Regions from separate parts of the Homo sapiens genome. Here all the other regions are linked to region 1. The links are contacts of gene promoters, found by promoter capture Hi-C in blood cells and fetal thymus (Javierre and others, 2016). All regions are on one chromosome and are shown on one strand. Each heading gives the region's core, a stretch centred on a gene start or on the middle of the fragment in contact. The rest is flanking DNA. Distances are from core to core; before and after follow the strand shown.

Evidence for each region. Contacts are between HindIII fragments. The CHiCAGO score rates a contact against its expected background, and 5 or more counts as called.
Region 2: a contact is called between a fragment that was not itself captured here and the fragment with the promoter of VAMP7 in region 1, in 6 of 17 cell types (total B cells, monocytes, fetal thymus and 3 more). The highest score is 7.0, in total B cells.
Region 3: a contact is called between a fragment that was not itself captured here and the fragment with the promoter of VAMP7 in region 1, in 6 of 17 cell types (monocytes, M0 macrophages, total CD4 T cells and 3 more). The highest score is 7.6, in monocytes.
Region 4: a contact is called between a fragment that was not itself captured here and the fragment with the promoter of VAMP7 in region 1, in 2 of 17 cell types (non-activated CD4 T cells and total B cells). The highest score is 5.3, in non-activated CD4 T cells.
Region 5: a fragment that was not itself captured here is called in contact with the fragment with the promoter of VAMP7 in region 1 in 4 of 17 cell types (naive CD4 T cells, activated CD4 T cells, naive CD8 T cells and 1 more); the score reaches 7.7 in naive CD4 T cells.

What each region holds. Positions count from the first base shown.
Region 1 is chrX:155,879,987-155,882,686 of GRCh38, forward strand. VAMP7 (vesicle associated membrane protein 7) reads left to right here and starts at 1,359. Exons shown (of 8, transcript NM_005638.6): 1 at 1,359-1,462. The HindIII fragment of the contact is 3,926 bases long and covers 1,054-2,700 here.
Region 2 is chrX:155,066,609-155,069,308 of GRCh38, forward strand. All of the region lies in intron 1 of CMC4 (C-X9-C motif containing 4), which reads right to left. All of the region lies in intron 1 of MTCP1 (mature T cell proliferation 1), which reads right to left. Among named protein-coding and RNA genes, the nearest start is that of CMC4, 3.2 kb to the right of the region's middle. The HindIII fragment of the contact is 3,486 bases long and covers 1-2,700 here.
Region 3 is chrX:155,045,779-155,048,478 of GRCh38, forward strand. It overlaps FUNDC2 (FUN14 domain containing 2), which reads left to right. Exons shown (of 5, transcript NM_023934.4): 3 at 731-806. Among named protein-coding and RNA genes, the nearest start is that of FUNDC2, 20 kb to the left of the region's middle. The HindIII fragment of the contact is 2,690 bases long and covers 59-2,700 here.
Region 4 is chrX:155,088,129-155,090,828 of GRCh38, forward strand. It overlaps BRCC3 (BRCA1/BRCA2-containing complex subunit 3), which reads left to right. Exons shown (of 11, transcript NM_001018055.3): 6 at 1,135-1,223; 7 at 2,656-2,700. Among named protein-coding and RNA genes, the nearest start is that of BRCC3, 18 kb to the left of the region's middle. The HindIII fragment of the contact is 4,571 bases long and covers 1-2,700 here.
Region 5 is chrX:154,986,195-154,988,894 of GRCh38, forward strand. It overlaps F8 (coagulation factor VIII), which reads right to left. Exons shown (of 26, transcript NM_000132.4): 5 at 1,043-1,111. Among named protein-coding and RNA genes, the nearest start is that of F8, 35 kb to the right of the region's middle. The HindIII fragment of the contact is 1,668 bases long and covers 449-2,116 here.

The DNA of each region.
Region 1 (2,700 bases), core at 109-2,608:
TTGCAAAGGGGAGATAAAGCAAGGGGAATGATTAAGATCACCAGGAAGAGTGTGAAGAGTAAGAAGAGAAGATGGCATAGGGCAGAACCCTATGGAATGTGAACATTTCTAAAGAAAATGAAGAGCTGCCACAGAGGTGGGAGGAGAACCAGCAGGGTGTAGTTCTTGGAAAGAGCTAACAGAATAAAGGGGTTCAAAAAGGAGGGAATAAGGGCCGTGTGTGGTGGCTCATGCCTGTAATCCCAATACTTTGGAAGACTGAGGCGGGTCGATTATGAGGTCAGGAGTTCGAGACCAGCCTGGCCAATATGGTGAAACCCCGTCTCTACTAAAAATATAAAAAATTAGCTGCCTGTGGTGGCGCACGCCTGTAGTCCCAACTGCTTGGGAGACTGAGGCAGGAGAATCGCTTGAACCCGGGAGACGGAGCTGGCAGTGAGCCGAGATCGCGGCACTGCACTCCAGCCTGGGCAACAGAGTGAGATTCCATCTCAAAAAAAAAAAAAAAAAAAAAAGGAATAATGAAACTAAAGTCCTGCAGAGTTGAAATACGGTAATGGCTTAAAAGTATCTATTTGTTTTAGCAACACTGTTGAGAATTCTGTCTGTAAAGGAGAGGTGAGAGAAAGACCACTAGCTTATCTGTGTTTGGTCTGTGTTTGATGAGGGGGCTTGGGGTATGGGGTTAAGAAAGGTGACTTTGGAATGTTTTAGATGAGAGAAATTTTGACAGCCTTTAAGTCCTGATAGTAAAGAGCGAGTTAGCAGAGAGCCGTTGAGGAGTCATGCAACGGAAGGGTTCATCAGAGGAGCTTGACTCTGAGTCGGCAACAGGGAATAGAGATGGAAGAGGGCTGGCTTAGATCAAAGGAGAGTAGTCGTTTATTATTATTATTATTGCAAAAAGAATAGGAGAAAGGATTGGTGAGGGGTACAAGAAAATTAGAAAATTTCATGGCGAAAGTAGAGGCAGTTCCTGTCAGATGAATTCTATTTTGTCTGTGAGGAAACGGGCGACGCTGCCTACTGAGACTAAGCAGGAGAGACGGGGCAAGCTTGGCTCTTCATTTATGCCGCCTACTCATTGCTGGTAGATTCTTTATCTAGCCTGCATCCTCTCATTTTCCTGGATCCCTATACGGCATTTGACGCTGTTTACCACAAGAGCTGTCGAACGAACGTGAAACACTCAGTGATACTCCAACCGGAACTACTACTCCCAGAATGCAGTACGGCTCCTGGGAAGTGCGGGGGGCTGGGAACGCAGCAGGCCTAGCCGTGTCGCCTGCTGCCATTGGAGGAGCGCTCCCACTCCCAAGAGGCCACGCGTAGACGGGGCGCTTCATGCGGAAGTCAGCGGCGTCCGGTCCCAGCCTCCTCTGGGAGCGGGCAGTTGGCGACCCTGCACTGACCCGCGTCCCTCCGTCCCGAGCCCGCGCGCCCTCAGAGGGTGCCCGGACAGGTAAATGGAGTGGGGTGCGCCTGCGGGAGGCGGGGAGAGAACTGCGGAGGGAGGGCGGAGGTGTCGATGGAAAGGTGCTGGGGTGGAGCGAGGAGGCAGTGCAGGGGTGACTTGGGCTTCTCTGGTGTCGACAGTTCCAGTTGTCGGGCAGGACCAGTTTTGGCGAGGTGCGTCTTATGCCACTGGAAAGGCCTCGAGTTAAAGAGTGTCAGAATGCGTCACTTAAGCTGTCATTACAGGAGGGAAAAAATGTTAACTTTCTCTCAGTTTGTATTCTACAAGACCTTTCTGTAGCATTTAAATCTCTTGAGATCGCCAGAGTCTTCTAAAAACTCTCTACGTCCTTGTTCGATGACGTCACTTTCTGCTTCACCTTCTACTTCTGGCTGTTTATGCTCCTTCGTGGGTTCCTAGCCCCTTATTCGCCCTTCCTCCACTGCTCAGTATTGACAGTCCCCTTCTTCCTCTGTTCAGGGACTGTATTTCTGCCTAGACCCGTTTCCTCAGCTTCAGACCTGTTTGGTGTTTTTATTAATGGCCAATGTTTATCAAATTCTGACTGCGTACTTTGGTAAATGCTTTACATCTCCGTCTCCCATAACTCTCACAACCAACCAACTGTCTTCATTTGGCCTCATTAATTGCTTTCAACTACCTGTATCTCCATTATCCCTCCCTTGATCCCAGAGGATACAGTCATGTTTAGGATATTAATTCCCTTTGAATACCTGTGGCTGAGAGCAGATCCATTCATACATTTAACAAATATTTATTGAACGGCTGGTATATGCTTGACACTCTTTTAAGTGCAGGGGATACAGCTGTAAACAAGACTTAGGAGGTTGCTACTCTCAGGAACTTACATGTTTGTGTCTAGAGGGGAAAACAGGAATAATCAGGATTATGTTATATATTGGTTAATGCAAAATAAAACAGGTGGTTGACTTGAAAGGATGGGATCCTATCCTAAGAAAGTCAGAGGTCAGGGCATCGTCCAGAAAGAATAGTTGTAATACCAACAGGAATAATCTTGATCTGTAACATGACTTTTCGTAAACACCTCTTCTTTTCCCCTGTCTAAGCAGTGTTTATTCTTCATTCTTCTATCTCCTCCAAGGTTATTGCATCAGAATTCATGGTTTATCTGTAGTTGGTTTATTCCTTCTAAGACCCAGAGAGAAGAGTGGGGGATTGGATTACTATTAGCTCAACTGCTTTATCTTACTTAGAAAGATAGT
Region 2 (2,700 bases), core at 93-2,592, 810 kb before region 1:
GAAAGTTTACAAATAGCGGATGGGCATTTCTAGAAGGGGATTTTCTTGTTAGGAAAAGTAAGCTAGCTTCATGGAATTTCTGAGCTGCAAGAGACTTTGGGGATCATGCTGATTTGGAGCTGAGTGAGTGCAAATGAAAGTTATCCATCTAGGTCCTTGTTTTATTTTAATAATTCTGCAGGATGTTACAGGAGCCCATTTTTCCATAGAGGACTAGGTTTAAATTTTGACTTCCTAAGCCAGAAGACCAGAAGCACATTTGAGAGGTGTAAAGGAAGCATACCTCCCAAAGCATTTGAGTGGTAGGGCAAACTCTATAACGATCCTCTGCCCAAGCCCCAGATATCATTTCAGGACCTCACAATAACTTGATGTGCATTTTGCATGAGTCAATCTTCTAGACCTTACTCAGAGCATTATAGCGCAGTTGTACTGTATTTCTACCTTTGGCCAGAGTATAGATACGGCACTGGGGAGCTGCCCCTCAAAACAAAGACCTGCTATTCTCATTAGGTGGGAAAAGAAATGCAGCGTGGGAGGGTGGTTGTTAGAGTCCTCAAAGTGAGACTGTCGAGAGCAACCAGATGCTTCACCCATTATACCCTGAGTGCATCTGACTCTGAGCCTGGTGTAAGCTCCTGTCTTAGTTTTCATACATATGTGCTCTCTCATTTCAAACTCGTCTAAACTTTCTCTTTAACCAAATCCTGATTTCTCTCAATGGCAACACCACCATTCCTGATCCTGCAGACTCAAAACTTATGAATTATCTTGGATTTCTTCCTCTTATTCAGTTGCTACATCCTATATGTCACCAATTCCAGCAGGCACTACAACTACCACTGCAGTTGAGACCAACTTTCCCCAAATACCAGGCTCATTTCTAGCTCCATACCCTTGCTCTTGTTTTCCACTTGCCTAAAATGCCTCCCTGGGCCTCTCTGCCTATCTTAGTGCTATTATAGCAGAGTCCAGGTGCCTGCCTCCTCTATGAAAACTTTAGAAAATTCTTGCCTCTTTTGACTACTGTAGCATTTATATTTAAACAAAGTCACCTTACACATTTGCTTTGCTTATTTCACAAGTCCTGTCTTCCCTAAAGCACAGTATTGTATTCTGCTCAATAGCAGGAATGATACAGTTCTGGGCACCCCAAGTCTCAGGTACTGGTCAAGCAATGTTTCAGTGAACAGGTGTATATGTATGGTGGGTAGGGAAGGGAAACAAAGGAACGCCACAGTGGTTGTCATGATTGGCTATGTATACGTGGGTAGAGATTGATTCTCTAGGCATAAGCCTCTGGCTATATATAATTTTTTTCCAAAGCCCCCCTTTTTTCCCATTTGCAGATACAGTTGTTTTGCCTCTCTTCCTTCCCAGAGCTTTGGAAAAGAGAAATACAAATAAAAACCTGGTAAATACTAATGTCAAAATAAAATATATTAAATTCGGATTTCAAGCACAGAAGACTTAAGTGTGGCCAATAACTGTTTTAAAAAAGTGGAAACCATGTGTTAAGGGTTTCAGGACCATCTCAATTTCATAGATAGGTCCTAGCAACAACCAACATGTTGACATTTAAATTTGTTTTGAATGGAAAACAAAATTGCATTGGTTATATTGACATTAAAAGGAAATAATGCCAGTGGAATAGAGGGCAAAGAGTTTGGAGATGATGGTCTGAGTTACTGAGTCACTACAAAGAGGCCTATGAGTCACTACAAAATATTCTCAGAAGAAAGGCAGTGTGATGTGCTGCTGTGACCCAAAGGTCAACATGCTGGGCATCAGCGGGATGAGCTTGGGAACCACCTCTCAGCACAGTATCCTGGAATTGTGTGTGCTAGCATTCAGAGGGCATGCAGGCCCAGAGAAAGACAACTGCAGTGATCAAGGGACAGAGAAGTCACCATATGAGCATGAACAAAGTCCTCAGCAGAGAAATGCAAAGGCTGAGGGAGAGGGATTCAGATCAAAGCCTATACAATCACAGGTTTTATGAGTGGAAAAATGTGATTCTTAGAAAACTTGCTCCCAACATTTTCCTTGGTCAAATAAGTTTGGGAATCTTGGAGAGTCATAAAGCACATTAGTGTAGTAACTGTTCTGGCAAGTTATGCAGTAAAGAAACTTTATGTTAACATTTCCCAAATTTATTTGACTAGAGAACATTTTATTTGCACATGATACTTGTTTACAAAATTCAGGACTTCTCGAACTAAGACGAATCTTTTAAAACCTCAACATAGACTTAGGTACAAGGTGCAATACAATACATGGAATATAAACTTGTGCAACTCAACTCAAGGAATACTGCCAGCTACAAATACAAATGAATTCCAAAAATGTTTAGATAACTGCATAACTTTATCATCCACTAGAAGAGATTGTCCCCATGAGGGTCACCTTGATTTCGGGGCCAGAGAGCACACTGGCCAAGACAGACAATTTCTTAGTAAGGCATTTTGTAAATTAGGTTTTAAATGGATGACATATAAGATAGAAGGGCTTCCTTAGGTAGTAATCTAAGTAAAACTATCATTTTTCCTTTACAGAATAAATTCTTTTGTGTCTTTTTTAAAAAAGTATAGTTTGCTTTAATTGCCAGGTTGATGAACAGTTTTTAAACATTGATCAGTTGAATACACTTATTTTATTAGAAGTCAATTAATAAACTCGTCCAATTACAATGAGTGAAAT
Region 3 (2,700 bases), core at 154-2,653, 830 kb before region 1:
TAATGATTACAGCTGATAGGTGTTCAGCAATGAAACAACAAAATCTCTGCCTTCATGAAGCTTACATTTTAGTATCGGGTGGGGGCAGGAAGATAGACAGTAATAAAGAAACACATAATTATATTAAACTGGCTACAAGATGTTGCCACTCAGATATCATATGGACATTTTGCATTCAACATATTCAAAATGACATTATCTCCTCCCCTCCCTTCCCCCACCTTTTCCTCTATTCCTCTTCCTTGTTTTTATATTGTAAAAAATGCCACATTCAGGACAGAATCTTGTGCCTTATCCCTTGCAACCATCCTGTCCTCAAACTCAGGAGTGTTTTTTTTTTTCTTCACAAACAGTTCCTCAGGTCTGCTCCCTCCTTGCCATCTCTACCTCGGCCCATTGGCATTCACTTCTCTTCTGGATCGCTACCTCACCGTCTTAACTAGAGTCTCTGCCTTCGTCCTCCCCCTTTAATCTCTTCTCCACAATGTAGCCAGAGTCATCTTTTAAAAATATAACCTGAGAGTTTTAAGGGACTTACTCAAGACCACAAGATTCATAGAGCCAAGATTTGATTTCCTTATGTCATGCTCCTCTTGGGGCTGGCTTTATGTAGGGGGTAGGAAGGAGCTAGGTCATCTTAAGCTAAGTAAGATATGAACATTGCCAGAAATGCATGTTTGTATGTAACTGACAGCTCATCAATTTGTCTGATGTTGGTTTGTTTTTGTAGGTGCACAGGTTTCATATTCCAGAAGGTTGGAAAGTTGGCTGCAACAGCTGTGGGAGGTGGATTTTTTCTCCTTCAGGTCTGTATGTGAAATGTTCTCAGATGTTTGGAAATTCCACCTGCCCATTAAGGAATGTGGTGTGGGGAGTTGTAATACAGTCCTGGCTATGTCACACTAGACTAGCCTTAGCACTTGTTTTCATGTACTATTTTAAATGCTAGTGACCGTTTGAGTCAAATTTTATTCATTATACTAGTAAATGTTATTTGCCAGTCCCATTTTATTTCCTCATGTGGCGACAGAAGTGCAAATTCCTTATCATAGCTCCCTTAAAAGAGTTTTTAAGACCAGCTGAATTATTAAGCGGATGTGATTTCAAAAATACAAGTGTGCTGTGATGATTTAGTGTCATATGCTAATATTATAGCTAGCTTTCACAGAGGGGATGTTGAGCATGTGATGAGAAATGGGAGCTAAGTGACAGTACAGTCAGATGTCGTCTGCTGTCTCCTTGACCCATAGTTTCAGAACCAGTGGTTGCCAGTTCTCTGAGACTGCTTAGGAGAGACTAACAAGCAAGACTTGAAAAAGGGAGCAGTTTCTCCAAAAACAAAAGAAAACTGACATTTGATTGTATTAGGCATACATTTCTTAGCTCTGTGGCATTGGTATTCAAATTTGGCTCCACATTGGAATCACCTAGGAGTTTTTAAAAGAGCCAACGTGTGCCACTCCTGACCCACAGTCTGATTTCATTGGAAAACTTAAAACTCCTGAGGTGATTCTGCTGTGCTGTGGGAGCCATAACTTGCTGAATCATGCCAGAGTCTCTGAATTCACAGCCGTTTGTCTCTTCCCACAGTTGGCAACCCTCACTTTTGCAAGGTAAGTTCTGCATTAGCACCATGATTGGAGTGAGTTTTGCAGATAGGTCAGGTGAAAATCAAATGTATCGAAGAGGGAAGCTGGTAACTGGCTGTAGCTGGGTTGAGTGTGGTATTGCTGCATGACAAATTCCCCCAAACCTAATGGCTTCAAATAATGATCACTTTATTCTCTCTCATGGTTACAGGAGTTTGGGGAGGGTTAAGGTAGGTGCTTGTGGATCAGAGTCTCATGTGGTTACAGGCCAGATGATCAGAGGGTTAGGGTAGGTCTGGACTTGTGGGGCCTCTTTGTGTCTCTGTCTCTGTTTGTCTTCCCTCCTCCTCTCCTTATTTCCCCCCTGTCCATAGTCTCAGTGCTCTTCCATGTGGTCCCTGTGCCAGTATAGGCTTCCTCACACTACCATGACCTCAGGACTCCCAAGCACAGTTCTGCAGAAACATGGTGCAAGTTGCATCTCCTTTGTTGCCCAAGCCTCACTTTTGTTGGCTGCTTCCCTGTGGGCTTGTTACGTGCTGGCTCTGTTGCTAGACAGGTCAGACTCCCTGCAAGGTGGGGCCCCTCCTCACACCTCTCTCTCCTTCCCCTTGACCCTTCAGGTGGAAGTGCAGTAACATCTCTATCCCTGTGGTTTCCCTTATATGCTGCCCCAAACTTCATAAACATTTTAATATTGCTTTGAAATGTCTTAATTTGAGTGTGTCCTCTGTTTCGTTTTGGGGCCCTGACAGAAATAATTGGTATTGAAAATGTCTCCAGAAAGGCACCTCAAAATGAGATTTTGGGGTTGGATAATTCCAATATTCAAGGGGTACAGGGACACTGCTTTGCTGCAGAGGTGAGACATGGAGAATCTGTGGCAGGCACTCATGTTATCTGTCACCAGGGGAGTGAGAGCAGGAGGCAAGCATAATGTTGGGAGATCAGTTATATCACAAGTTATAGTTTGACATAGGGATCCAGTTTCCTTTTTTCCATACTGATAATTGAGCAGAATTTAGTGAATAATTCTTCCCTTTCCCAACATTTGCAGCATTGTCTCTTTCATATATCAGAACCCATGTATGTGTGGCTGTGACTCTGGTTT
Region 4 (2,700 bases), core at 151-2,650, 790 kb before region 1:
TGTTTGGTCTCAGTCTTTACTTAGGAGGACATTGGGGAGAAGTCAAAATCTAGATCAAAAAGGTATACACACAAAGAATGTTGAAGAACAGATTGCCAAAATAAGTGAATGTAAGCCATTGGGCAAAACTGTAATCTGCAGTGTTTCATTGTGACACCTGATCTTTTGTATCCTTTATAAACAATGGTCTGAAGACTAAATTTAGCCTCTGTTTAGTTTTTGGCTTTTTTTTTTTTTTTTTTGAGACGGAGTTTTGCTCTCGTTGCCCAGGCTGGAGTGCAATGGCACCATCTCGGCTCACTGCAACCTCTGCCTCCCAGGTTCAAGCGATTCTCCAGCCTCAGCCTCCCAAGTAGCTGGGATTACAGGCATCCGCCACCACACCCAGCTAATTTTGAATTTTTAGTAGAGAAGGGGTTTCTCCTTGTTGGTCAGGCTGGTCTCAAACTCCCGACCTGAGGTGATCCGCCTGCCTCAGCCTCCCAAAGTGCTAGGATTACAGGCAAGAGCCACCACGCCTGGCCGTTTTTGGCATTTAATATTTTAATCCTTTCTAATGTTGTTATTTGGTGCCTGTTTATTATCTCTTTTCAAAAGTTCAGTAACCATATCAAGCAGAATTAAGAAAAAAATCAAGTAACCATATAGGAGGGGTTTCTACTCTCTGGAATGTTGAATTTATATCACAACCACTTCCATACAATGGCTTCCTGTAAGATTTTCCTCTGTAATTGTTCCACACTTCTATTCTTTAGTAGCAAGCCTAATAAATATGTTCACTTTCCTAGAAGCTGTCCATCAAAAGGCTTTTTCTAGGAAATACTTTCTCTCCTTTTTAATTTCTCTTTCTATTACCACATTCCATAGCAGAGCTACTCTTGGGCTAGGCAGGCTAGAGTTATTAATAAGTTTTATTATTTAATGGCAGACTTTCGATAGTATTACCCTAACCTAGCAAAACATTTTTACTTTGATATTGTCCTTAGGATATATTCCTGTTTTGCCTGTACAATCTGAATCCTAGGAAGATTATATGTTGCTGTTATCTTTAAATCTTTAAGTCAATCTTTAAATCAATAAGCTGTGAGACACAGCTTATTGACAGAAGATTTTTAAATTTTCATTTATTTTCAGATGTTCGCACACAAGCCATGTACCAGATGATGGATCAAGGCTTTGTAGGACTTATTTTTTCCTGTTTCATAGAAGATAAGAACACAAAGGTATTGTGTGTGCATGTGTGTGTGTGTGTGTGTGTGTGTAGGGTCTGTGTGTGTGTCTACACACAGAGTAGAGAAAAATCTCTTTGCGATTTTAATAGGATGGTCAGGAAAGGTTTCAAGGAAAAGGGTCATTGAGTCAGGACCTGAAGAAGGTGAGGGAACAAGTCTTGTGGATTTCTTGGGGAAAGAACGTTCCAGGCAGAGGAAATAGCCAGTCCAAAGACCCTAAGGTGAGTGTGGCATGTTCAGGAAACATCAAGGAAGTTGGTGTGGCTGCAGCAGAGTGAGGAAGACCATGACCATACATGCCAGTTTGCCTCTGTCAGTCCCAGTTTTACCCTATTATCCTAGTGACCTTCCCTCTTGGAAGTGTCCCAGTTTGAATGATAACTCATTTAGTTGTCCTAAACAAGGTCCAGATCTTGTAAGGCCTTGGATTTGACTCTGAGTTGGGAAGTCACTGGAGGATGACTTTATGTTTTAATGGGATCTCTCTGGCTTCTGTGTAGACTGAACAGTGGGCAGAGGGTGTGGGTGGAATCCGTGGCATCAGTGAAACCTGTTAGGAAGATATTGCTGTAATCTAGACAAGAGATGATGGAGGTTTGGTCATGGAGGTAAGAGTGAAGATAATGAGAAGTGGTTGGATGCTGAATATAGTTTGATGGCTACTAATAGTAACAACTACCATTTATCACCTATTGTATGGCATGTACTTATTAGGTGCTTTACGTAAATATGCTGTAACCCTGACAAAAACCCAGAAGGAGTATTATTCCCATTTTATGAATGAACAAACTGAAGCTCACAGAGGTTAAACAGTTTGATCAGTGGCCAGTCTTGCCATTCTTTATTTGGATTCTGTTTGAATTTTATGTTCATGTCAAGAGGTTATAATATGTGTCAGTTCAAACAAAAAGAAAATTACTACTTAACATTGTAGGTATGAATTCTGCTAAGAATACCAATAGTGTCTTATTTAGTGCATTAGTTATATTCTCAGAATCTGTGTTAATAATGAATATTTTCCATAAAATCAGTTTTCCAGAAACACTAAAGTTCAGTACCTTGAACTTTATACATCATTTGAAATGCTTTCAACCTTGTCATCATGCGTTTATTTATTTATTGTCATCATAAGTAGTTGTTGAATAAGTTTGTCAGCTTTCAGGATGGCAGTTTGAATGTTCAGGTTCTTAGGTTCCTGGTTCTTGTGTTTGTTAACAATTCCCTGCTGTTACATGAGCAGATGTTTGGTTGTGACCATCTTATGTTGACTGAGCATATGATCCTTTTTATAGAAATTAATTTATGGCATATTCCATCTTTGGTATCTCTTTTAACATTCTGCTTCTAGAGGGACCTTTGGGGTCTTTTTCAATATTAATCTTTCTTTGTGTGATATTTCTTTCTTTCTTTTTTCCTTTGATAGACTGGCCGGGTACTCTACACTTGCTTCCAATCCATACAGGCCCAA
Region 5 (2,700 bases), core at 33-2,532, 890 kb before region 1:
ATGGAAGATAAGGCAGGAAATGGAACACAACAAGGCTGGAAATGTCACCAGAGAATAGATAATGCATTTTGCACTTTACCTTGAAATTGAATTATTTTATTTGTTTTGTTGTTTGAGATAGGGTCTGGCTTTATCACCCAGGCTGGAGTGCAGTGGCGCAATCACAGCTCACTGCAACCTTCACCTCCTGGGCTCAAGTGATCCTCCCACCTCAGCCTCCCAAGTAGCTGGAGTACAGGTACCCGCCACCATGACCGGCTGATTTTTTAATTCTTTTGTAGAGATGTGGTTTCGCCCTGTTGCCCAGGCTGGTCTCAAACTCCTGGGCTCAAGCAATCTGCCCACCTCAGCCTCCTAAAGTGCTGGGATTACAGGCATGAGCCACCGAAACTGGCAAACTGAAGTATTGTAGAGGCTAGAGTGACAAGATCAGATACTCACTTCAGTAAGCTTCCTTTGAGAGTTATGAGACAGATCATGAGGGCCTCAATTAAGAAGATGGCAATGTAAATTGATAAGGGGGCAAGAAGAATATTATGTTACTATGATTACATAGTGATTACATTAGGAGGAGGAGGAAGAGGCGGAGGTACTAACACTATTGAGGGCCTACTCTATGCCACACAGTGCTCTAGGTTACTTAAGTGAAATCACTCAGCACTCACAACAATCTTATGAAAAATGTACTATTATTTCCATTTAGGAAACCGAGACACAGAGAGGTTAAATAACTTGCCAAAGGTTGTGCACTTAATAATAGATGAAGATAAGAGAAAGTATTTAGAAAGTAGAGCCCAAAGTATTTGTTGACAGTCTTAATGAGGGGGATGAGGCCAGTCCGTTATCCAGCTCCTCTATCTTCTTACCTCATAGCTGCCAGTGGAACTGAGGTTACGTTTTGTTTTCTTGGAATTCATTTTTAACCCCATCTCCTTCATTCCTGAACAGTAATGTAATTTATGATCTTTCTATAATCACCTCCTCTTAATAGTAGCAGAGGATTTCTTTCAGGAATCCAAAATTCAGATTAAGACTCACTAACCTTCATCAAATACAGCAAAAAGTAGTATAAATTTGTGCAAGGTCTGTGTCTTTTCCTTGGCCAGACTCCCTGAAAAAGAAGTGAGAACATTTATCTTCTATTTAAAAAATCTCATTGTAGGAAATTGTCACTAGGAGGAGACAGTTCTTCATCAGTTACTTGACAGTAAGAACAAATGTAGTCTTCTGTCTCTTGATAACTTGGCTTTGATGTCAGGTCTCCTATAGCAGTGTTTCTAAAACTATCTGGAGCAAAGAATTTTTTTATTTCAACTTTGATGAAGACCACTACTTGTGTAAAATATGATAAAAATGAATTACTAAAGAAAAAAATTAAAAACACTTACAAAATACAAGCCCTCACACACTGTGTGATAATAGTGAAATTATAGATAATTTCTGTTACTCTTGTAACTTTTTATACTTCTGCAATTGTAAATTAAAAGTTTTGAGTAAAATAGCAATTGTCCATATTAAACATCTATACTCATGATTTTTTTTCAATAGCCCACAGTGCTTCTAATTATACTCACATTTTAAATAAATACCGTGTATATCGATAGCTGAAGTTTTTAATGGAACAAACTAGCTTGTTTCATGCTTTAACTGTTGAGCTTGTTGGCTATCTTTCTTAGAATTATATATTTTTTAAATTTGACTGGAAACTTTTGTTTACAGGCTTATTTTGAGTAGAAAGATTTTTGTTTATGACATTTTGCCGTTCTTTCTCTCTCTCGCACCCTTAATGCTTAGAAATAAAAATTAGCTTGGACTAAGAAAGCAACAGTACGTGTGCTGCTACTCATCAGGCTGGGATAAGAGACATAGATAAAGCTAACTGCAGAGTTAACAACACCATTTCTCCCAAGGACACATTGCCACTGTATAAACTCACTGAATGCCAACTATTTGCTTTGATTATCTCTTGCTTTCTTACTCAATTGAGTTGTTTGTTCTCTGAATTCACAGCCTGCCAGAAATGTTTGAACTAATAGCAACAAGAATGAAACATCTCATTCTTTCCTAGGTCATCTAAATTACTTTGACACAAAGAAGCAGCTCAATTTAAAGCTCAAGCTTCAGGTAAGGGGTGCCTTGACTTAACCTTTCATGTCTATGTTAACTTTTTAGAACACTTCACAGTCTAGACCTCATGGTTATTTCTTTACACACAACTCTACTTTGCTTCATTTAAATATCACCTAACCTCCACCCTTCCCCAAAATTCTTTACTAACTCTATACAGTATTTCCCTTTGTTTAGGGAGGTGTCCACAGTCTCTTGTTGCCATGAGCCAATAAATCTGACTTTGTTGAACTATAGTGATCTTTGCTGTCCCTTGTGATCATTGGTTGATTAAGCAAAGGATGTGTTCACTATTCTCTATCTAGCAAATCATACCCTAGAATGGAATTTTGGAGATACTGGCCAATGGAAACCTTGGGGATATTGCAGATTCCCCCACTGAACCAAGAAAACTTAGTTCAGTTCCTATTCTAGGACTGGGTTTGCTTTCCCCTCTTCTAGGACTCTGAGTTTCCACAAAGCCATGGCCCTAAACAAAGAGTGAGCAGCAGCTGTGCTCAGCTCTCTTTCAAGTGAAGAAGAGCCCAACTCTATGATATGGGCTCTCAGTCCCTCTGGTGGGGAGCACTATTT